Regions from separate parts of the Homo sapiens genome. Here region 2 is linked to region 1. Evidence: promoter capture Hi-C in human tissues and cell types (Jung and others, 2019). All regions are on one chromosome and are shown on one strand. The core of a region is centred on a gene start or on the middle of the fragment in contact, and the rest is flanking DNA. Distances in the headings are between cores, read along the strand shown. Region 1 holds the start of CAPS (calcyphosine). Region 2 has its middle 6.4 kb from the start of MLLT1.

What was found. Contacts are between HindIII fragments. The study calls those that stand out against the background at their distance.
Region 2: a fragment that was not itself captured here is called in contact with the fragment with the promoter of CAPS in region 1 in 1 of the 25 tissues and cell types used here (pancreas).

The regions. Positions count from the first base shown.
Region 1 is chr19:5,911,494-5,915,522 of GRCh38, reverse strand. CAPS (calcyphosine) reads right to left here and starts at 1,269. Exons shown (of 5, transcript NM_004058.5): 1 at 1,214-1,269; 2 at 1,034-1,138; 3 at 783-960; 4 at 377-583; 5 at 1-302. The coding sequence starts at 1,116. The coding sequence ends at 201. The HindIII fragment of the contact is 10,666 bases long and covers 1-4,029 here.
Region 2 is chr19:6,284,279-6,288,563 of GRCh38, reverse strand. No RefSeq gene overlaps it. Among named protein-coding and RNA genes, the nearest start is that of MLLT1, 6.4 kb to the right of the region's middle. The HindIII fragment of the contact is 3,632 bases long and covers 1-3,190 here.

The sequences.
Region 1 (4,029 bases), core at 20-2,519:
TCCTGTTAGGACCTTTGTCCCACCTCCGCCTGGTGGACCGGCAGGGACCTGGTCTAGCCAGTCCTGCAGCCTCCATTCCCCCACCTGCCCCTCCCCGCTCTGTGGTGTGGCTGCCCAGGAGAGAAGGGGCCCAGGGAAGGGAGGTCTCCGGCAGGGGTGGGGAGTGACAGGCCAGGGCAGCAGGGCTGAGCCGGAGCTGCTCACAGCTGCCAGGCACTGGTCATCATGGCCACGAACTCCTCATCCGTGTTCATGGAGGCACTCACGCCGCTGTAGTAGTCCTGGAATTCCGCCAGTGTGACCTGGGAACAGAGGGCCGTGAGGGGGCACGGCCGAGGAACTGCCTGGGGAGGGGGCCCCCCGCGCAGCCACCCACCTGCCCGTCCTTCTCAGAGGAGTCGAAGTTGTCCAGGAAGCGGCGCAGCACCTCGTCCTCGGTCCACTCCCCACTGCGCACCTTGGGGTGGGCACGGCCACTGTACACCCCGCGGAGGTCGTCCACCGTCACGACGCCGTCCCCACTGCGGTCCAGCTTGGCAAATGCAGCTGCGATGACAGCCTCCCGGGCCTGGGACATGGGGGGCTGGGACAGGAGGTGGTGACTGGGGGTGGTGGGTAGCACACCCAAACCCCCAAGACGCTGTGCAGAGCACTGGGGCTGTATGCCCCAGCAGGCGCCTCTTAACAGCAGCTCTTAGGGAGGAGTCCCCGTCTCCGCATCTCAGCATCCTCTGTCGCCCCATGCCCAGGGCACACGCCTTGACTGTGAGGTGGGGGCTCACCCGCAGCGCCCGAAGGAACTCCTCCAGATCCAGCGTCCCGCTGCCATTGCGGTCCCACTTCCTGCACACACCCTCTGCCTCCGCCTGGTCCAGCACCAGCCCGAGTTTGGCCAGACCCTGCCGGAACTCATCAGCGTCCAGGGATCTGCTCCCGTCCCGGTCTAGTTGGCGGAAAAACCTGGAGGCAGGGGACACGGTTGGAACAGTGGTCTCAGGGGCCGGGGTCAGGAAGGTGAGAGGGGACAGCTCACCTGGCCAGGCCCTGGATGCCCGAGGCCCCGCGGGACAGGCACTGTGCCCGGAGTTTCTCCATGGTGGCATCCACGGCGTCCATGCTTGGTCTGGGCTCTGGGCAGCTGGAAGGGAGAGAGGTCAAGGTGGGGACTCCCGCAAGCCCACCCTGGCCGACTGCCCCTTGTTCAGATGCTCACCTGGCCTGCGTCTGTCCCAGAGTCCTGCCTGCGGGGCCTTGTGTTAGCTGTGTTGTGCCTGGGGAGACTGTTGCTAGTGGAAGGTGCCTCTGGAGATGGGGTGGGGCCCAGCTGCATGAATGCACTGTGCTGGGCAGTGGGGAGTGGGGGAGGGATGGGTGCGCCCAGCCTGACTGCTTACTCAACTGCCAGCCCCACAGGGCCTGGGACAGAGCCAGATCCCTGTGGCACTGCATCCCTTCCTGGCTCCAAGGAGGAGGGGCAGGCCACTGCCCTGCAGGGGCTGAAATGCCCTGGATGGAGACAAGTCCGTGGCTGGGGAGGCTTGACGCATGATTCCTGTGTGACCCTGGACAGGTCCCTTTCCCTCTCTGGCTTCACAGGGGCTTCTCAGCCCGAGCCAGGGCTGACAAAATTGCTGAGGAATCAAAGTTCAAAAGGGCCCCAGGTTCTGACCGGCCACTGCGGCTCATGCCTGAAATCCCAGCACTTTGGGAGGTCTAGGTGGGAGGATCACTTGAGCCCAGGAGTTTGGACCAGCCTGGGGAACATATAGAGAACTTGTTTCTATTGTACAGCAACAAAAATGCCCCAGGTGGGCTGGGCGCGGTGGCTCATGCCTGTAATCCCAGCACTTTGGGAGGCCGAGGTGGGCAGATCACAAGGTGAGGAGTTTGAGACCAGCCTGACCAACATGGTGAAACCCCGCCTCTACTAAAAATACAAAAATTAGCCGTGCATGATGGTGGGCGCCTGTAATCCGAGCTACTTAGGAAGCTGAGGCAGGAGAATCGCTTGAACCCAGGAGGTGGAGCTTGCAGTGAGCCAAGATTGCACCACTGCACTCCAGTCTGGGCGACAGAGCAAGACTCCATCTCAAAAAGAAAAAAAAAAAAAAAGCCCCAGGTGGCCCAGGTCCTGGGGCCCTAAGACCTCCCACCCAGGCCCACCTCCAAGGGCAGGTCCTGCAACCCACAGAGACTGAGCTGAGCCTGAGGGACACCTCTGCTCACTGCCACAAAGCTTGTCACTGGCCGTTGTTAGGAGCCAGTCCCAGGATTTCTGTCTTTACGGATCTTTTGTTGTTGGTTTTCAGGCCTGAAACGTGACTTAGTGGGCTGGCTCCTGACAAGGTGGTGAGCCAGAGGTTGTGACCCCGAGTGGAAGAGCAGCCCTGATCCTGGACATAAACCTCAAGAGACGAAGCCACCTCACTGAAGGCCTTCAACGGAGACATCGGATATACCTGCCCGCTAAGATAGGTGGGTTTTCCAGGACTTGAAACGTGGGCCCTGTTTGAGGACCCACTGTTCGCCCCGACCCAAGGATCATCAATCGGAGCCTTCTCCAAGCCTGGCTTTACCTCGCTCACAGCACAATTATATTGTCAGAAGTTGCCTTGCCTGAGCGCGGTGGCTCATGCCTGTAATCCCAACACTTTGGGAAGCCAGGGCAGGAAGATCACTTGAGCCCAGGAGTTTGAGACCCGCCTGTGCAACATAGTGAGACCCCCCCATCTCTACAAAAACTACAAAAAATTAGCCAGGCATGGTGGTGTGTTCCTGTAATCCCACCTACTTGGAAGGCTGAGGCAGGAGGATCACTTGAGCCCGGGAGTTGGAGGCTGCAGTGAGCTATGATCGCACCACTGCACTCCAGCCTGGGTTACAGAGCAAGACGCCCGCCTCTTAAAAATAAGTAAATAAACTGGCCGGGCACGGTGGCTCACGCCTGTAATCCCAGCACTTTGGGAGGCCGAGGCGGGCAGATCATGAGGTCAGCAGTTCGAGACCAGCCTGGCCAACATGGTGAAACCCTGTCTCTACTATAAATACAAAAATTAGTCAGCCGGGTGCGGTGGCTCATGCCTGTAATCACAGCACTTTGGGAGGCCGAGGCAGACAGATCACCTGAGGTCAGGAGTTTGAGACCAGCCTGGCCAACATGGTGAAACCCTGTCTCTACTTAAAATACGAAAAACTAGCTGGGCGTGGTGGTATGTGCCTGTAATCCCAGCTACTCGGGAGGCTGAGGCAGGAGAATTGCATGAACCTGGGAAGCGGAGGTTGCAGTGAGCCGAGATCGTGCCATTGCACTCCAGACTGGGGGACAAGAGCAAGACTTTGTCTCAAAAAAAAAAAAAGAAAATTAGCCAGGTATGGTGGCGGGTGCCTGTAATCCCACCTACTCCAGAGGCTGAGGCAGGAGAATCACTTGAACCCAGGAGGCAGAGGTTGCAGTGAACCAAGACCATGCCACTGCACCACAGCCTGGGCGACAGAGTGAGACTCTGTCTCAAAAATAAATAAATAACTTAAAAAAAGAGGCCAGGGCTGGGCGCGGTGGCTCACAGCTGTAATCCCAGCACTTTGGGAGGCTGAGGTGGGCGGATCACTTGAGGTCAGGAGTTCAAGACCAGCCTGGCCAACATTTTGAAACCCCATCTCTACTAAAAAAAATAAATAGCTGGGCATGGTGGTGCATGCCTGTAATCCCAGCTACTCAGGAGGCCAAGGCAGGAGAATCACTTGAACCCTGGAGGCAGAGGTTGCAGTGAGCCTAGATCACACCACTGTACTTCAGCCTGGGTGGCAGGGTGGCAGAGCCAGACTCCGTCTCAAAAAAAAAAAAAAAAAAAAGTTGCCTTTGGAGTCTGAAACCAATCTGTAGGTTACAGGCATCCCAGCATCTTGATTCAGGCCACCACTGATGTAACATCATCAGTTTTATGAGAAATCATGGTGACATCTGGCTGCCAAAATCCTGGTGGCTCACTGCAATCCAGAATTATTTAAATAGGCAGAGAAATACTTTCA
Region 2 (4,285 bases), core at 125-2,624, 370 kb before region 1:
CAAGCCTGCCCAACATGGTGAAACCCCATCTCTATTAAAATACAAAAATTAGCCAGGCATGGTGGTGCATGCCTGAAATCCCAACTACTTTGGAGGCAGATGTTGCAGTGAGATAAGATCACACCACTGCACTCCAGCCTGGGCGACAGAGCAAGGCTCTGTCTCAAACACACACACACACACACACACACACACACGCGTGCGCACAGAAATTTAATGTTGTATATAAAGAAGAGATAGGAGCTGGGTGCAGTGGCTCATGCCTGTAATCTCAACACTTTGGGAGGTCAAGGTGGGTGGATCACCTAAGGTCAGGAGTCAAGATCATGCCATGCCACTGCACTCCAGCCTGGGCGACAGAGCAAGACTCCATCTCAAAAAAAAAAAAAAAAAAGAAGAGATAAGAACCTTGACAACCATGAAAGAAAGAAAGATAGGAGACTGGAGGTCCTAGTGCCAACAACACCCTAATGGGCGCTTAGGGACTTGAGTTTCAGGAGTTAGTCCAGGGGCCTTTGGATAACACTGAGGCATAGCCTCAGCCAGATACCCTCAGTTGCCCCAGGACCTCCTTCTGGTCCCATGTAACAGGTAGACCTCATGGAAGGAAACGGGATTGAAACAAACCCAACATTCTCAACACTTGAGGATGATGAGGGATTGACAGTGTCCTCCCCAGCAAGGCTATCATCCATGTTTTAAGTCCAGCATCTCTGCTAGTTAATTTTAACTGGCTAATAGAGGCCTGGTGTTTTTCTTTCATTTTAGCTATTGTTGAGTTTAGGGACTCCTAAAAAGGGACAGAAAGAGCAGATCTGCTTTTACTCACCCTTTCACTCACCCTTCTGCAGATCCTGGACGAGCCCTCAAAAATGTTGCAGGATCCTTGGGGTGTTGATTTCTGGTTGGAAACCTCTGTGGCTGGTGGCACCTTTGCCTGAGTTTTGCTCGGGCCCACTGGGCTCATTCCACCCACACGGCCTGGCAGGCTGTGCTCAGCTCACACTACTAGCCTGGATCTCACACTTGCCAAGGGCAAGCCAGGCATGGAGGGGCGAGGGGTGTGTGAGCAAGCAAGCAAGCATGAGGTCCGGCCACTGCATGCAGCCAGGCACACCAGCTGCTGCAGCAGAGCAGACAGCTCCAGGTGCTGGCAGGGGCCCTGGCTCTCTGAGAGGCTGCGGCCAGACCAGGTGCACCATAAGCAGCTTCCACAGCTGCCACCAGGGAATGCAGTGGCACTCAGAAGCTTGGAGACTATAGGAAACACTGGGGTCCAAAGAGGGAGTCACAGCCCTGGCTCAGGGAGCTCCTAGGTCCCTGAAGGGCCACAGCTCTTCTCTCCTTCTCTTCACCCACAACATGGCAAGGCGCATGTTTCAGCCCTGTGGGTTTTATAGCTCTTTCAGCCCTGCTGTTTAGCAGTTCCTGAATTCTTGTCCTGTGCCCAAGAAGAATGAGGTATGTGGACAAGTGGAGGGTGAGCAAGGTGAACAGGAGCTTTATTGAGCGACAGAGTAGCTCAGAGGAGGCCTTGGATTGGGTAGCTCCTCTCTGCAGGCAGTCCATCCTGTCATTTTCTGTGGCTCTCAGTGAAGAGGAGGCCCTGGAGTGGGTAGCTTCTCTCTGCGGGCAGGTTGTCCCATTGCTTGCCCAGCTTTCAGCAGAGGGGAGGCCCTGGAGTGGGTAGCTCCTCTCTGCAAGCAGGTTGTGCCATCATTCCCTGCAGCTCTCAGCAGAAGGAGGCCCTGGGGTGAGTTGCTTCTCTCTGCAGGCAGGTCATCCCATGTTCATCCCAGCTCTTAGCAAAGAAGAGGCCTTAGAGTGAGTTGCTCCTCTCTGCAGCTGGTAGTCCCGACGTCTCTGCAGCTCTCAGCAGAGAGGAGGCCCTGGAGTTGGTAGCTGCTCTCTGAAGCTGGTCATCCCGATATCTGCCCAGCTTTGGCTGAGCCCAGGGCTTTTATGGGCCTCAGAGGGGAAAAAATGCATGCTGATTGGTCCATGAGCAGGCCTGGAAAAGGCATCACATGTTTCCACTCCAGTCCATGGGGCTGGTAGCCCAGCCCCTAGCCTTCAGGCCCTCCCTGGCCTGAAGGTGGGGCCTCACCAGGGACCCATCCCCTTCCATCCAGGAACCTGTCTACCTCCTGCTGCTGTTGATGGTGCCCAGGCTATAGGTGCCAAGGGGCGCATGCAGGTCAGCACTGAGCTGCCCTCAGCCCCCCCTTTGGCTTCCCTCCTATGCTCGTTGGTGCCCGAAGTCCAGATGGGGCTGAGGTAGCAGGGGGCTGGTGTGTCTGTGCTGCCCCAAGTTTGTGCACACCCTGCCTGGCTGCAACAGCTCTGGGGCTCAGCCCCAACTTTGCTTTGAGATGGAGTGGGCACCAACAGCAGGGAGAAGCCAAGCAGTGGAAGCAGACATTTCTGAGCCTGCAAGGGCAGGGGGAACCTTCCCGGGCCCCTAGGAGTGCAGGGACTCCTAATCTGCAGCTGCAGTTTGGACAGCTGCAGCTGCACCTGGGAGGGTGGGGCTCCTGCCTGCCTCTGGGCCTGAGAGCCCAGTAATGCCCAGGTCTGTAGCCATGGCTTTAGTGGCTGCAGCACCACCCAGGGAGCTCCCACCCCAATGCAGAAGGGGCGGGGCTCCCACTTGTCACCAGCTTCTGCCAGATCTATGGAACATGCAGTCCTGGCCATTCCTCTGTGCTGCAGCTAGTAAGATGGTGGTGGCCAGTCCAGATGGCCAGCCACTGCCATCAGTGCAATCATAGCCCACTGCAGCCTCAAACTCCTGCGCTCAAGCAATCCTCCTGTCTCAGCCTTCTAAGTAGCTGGGACTACAGGTGCACACCACTACACCCTATTTTCTTCCTTTCTAAGGTTGAATAAGCTTCTATTGCATGGATAAACCATGTTTAGTTTATCCGCTCATGTGTCAGTAGACATTCAGTTCCTTCCTCATTATTCTTTTTTTTTCTTTTTTTTTTGAGACAGAGTCTCACTCTGTCGCCCAGGCTGAAGTGCAGTGGTGCAATCTTGGCTCACTGCAAGCTCTGCCTCCCGGGTTCATGCCATTCCCCGGCCTCAGCCTCCTGAGTAGCTGGGACTACAGGCGCCCGCCACCACACCCGGCTAATTGTTTTTTTTTTGTTTGTTTGTTTGTTTGTTTTGTATTTTTAGTAGAGACGGGGTTTCACTGTGTTAGCCCGGATGGTCTCAATCTCCTAACCTCGTGATCCGCCCTCTTCAGCCTCCCAAAGGGCTGGGATTACAGGCGTGAGCCACCACACCCGGCCCTTCCCCATTATTCTTTTCGATGTTCAAAGTATTCCACCTCAGCCAGTGGGAGCCCAGGGGATGCAGTTTTGAAAATTCCCAACAATTTAGAACCTAAGTGAACAGTAATTTCCCAACTGAATAAGGGGGAGGGGATTGAGTTCCAGAAGCTCATATTTGTAGCAAGTGTAGACTAAAGGTTCTTTCCTGCAAGCTTTCTTCAAAGACAGATGCTGGCCAGGCATGGTAACTCATGCCTGTAATCTCAGCACTTTGGGAGGCTGAGGCAGGTGGATCACTTGAGCCCAGGAATTCAAGACCAGACTCAGAAACATAACAAGACTCTGTCTCCACAAAAAAAAGAAAATACAAAAATTAGCTGAGCATGGTGGTATGAGCCTTTATTCTTGGCTACTTGGGAGACTGAGGCAGGAGGAACACTTGAGCCTGGGAGGTGGAGGTTGCAGTGAATTGAGACTGCCACTGGACTCCAGCCTGGACAACAGAGCAAAACTCTGTCTCAAAAAAAAAAAAAAGAAAAAAAAAAAAAAGATAGATGGCTACCCCTGACTCCCATTTTGTCCCTTTACCTGGGACAGTGATTCTGAAAGTTAGGTGAGCCTTGGAACCATCTGTAGGGTTGGTTAAGCCACTGCTGTCCAAACACTTAGAATTTCTGGTTCCATAAACAAGGGTGGGGGAAGACCAGAATGTGCATTTATAGCAACATACCCAAGTGATGCTCACACTGCTGCTTTGGGGACTACTTAGAGCAACTGATCTACTTACATCCAGTGATAGGATTAAAAAAAATTTTATTTTTTGGCCAGGCACGGTGGCTCACGCCTGTAATCCCAGCACTTTGGGAAGCCGAGGCAGGAGGATCACAAGGTCAGGAGTTTGAGACCAGCCTGGCCAAATGTTGACACCCTGTCTCTACCAAAAATACAAAAAAACTAGCCGGGCGTCGTGGCGAATGCCTGTAATCCCAGCTACTCAGGAGGCTGAG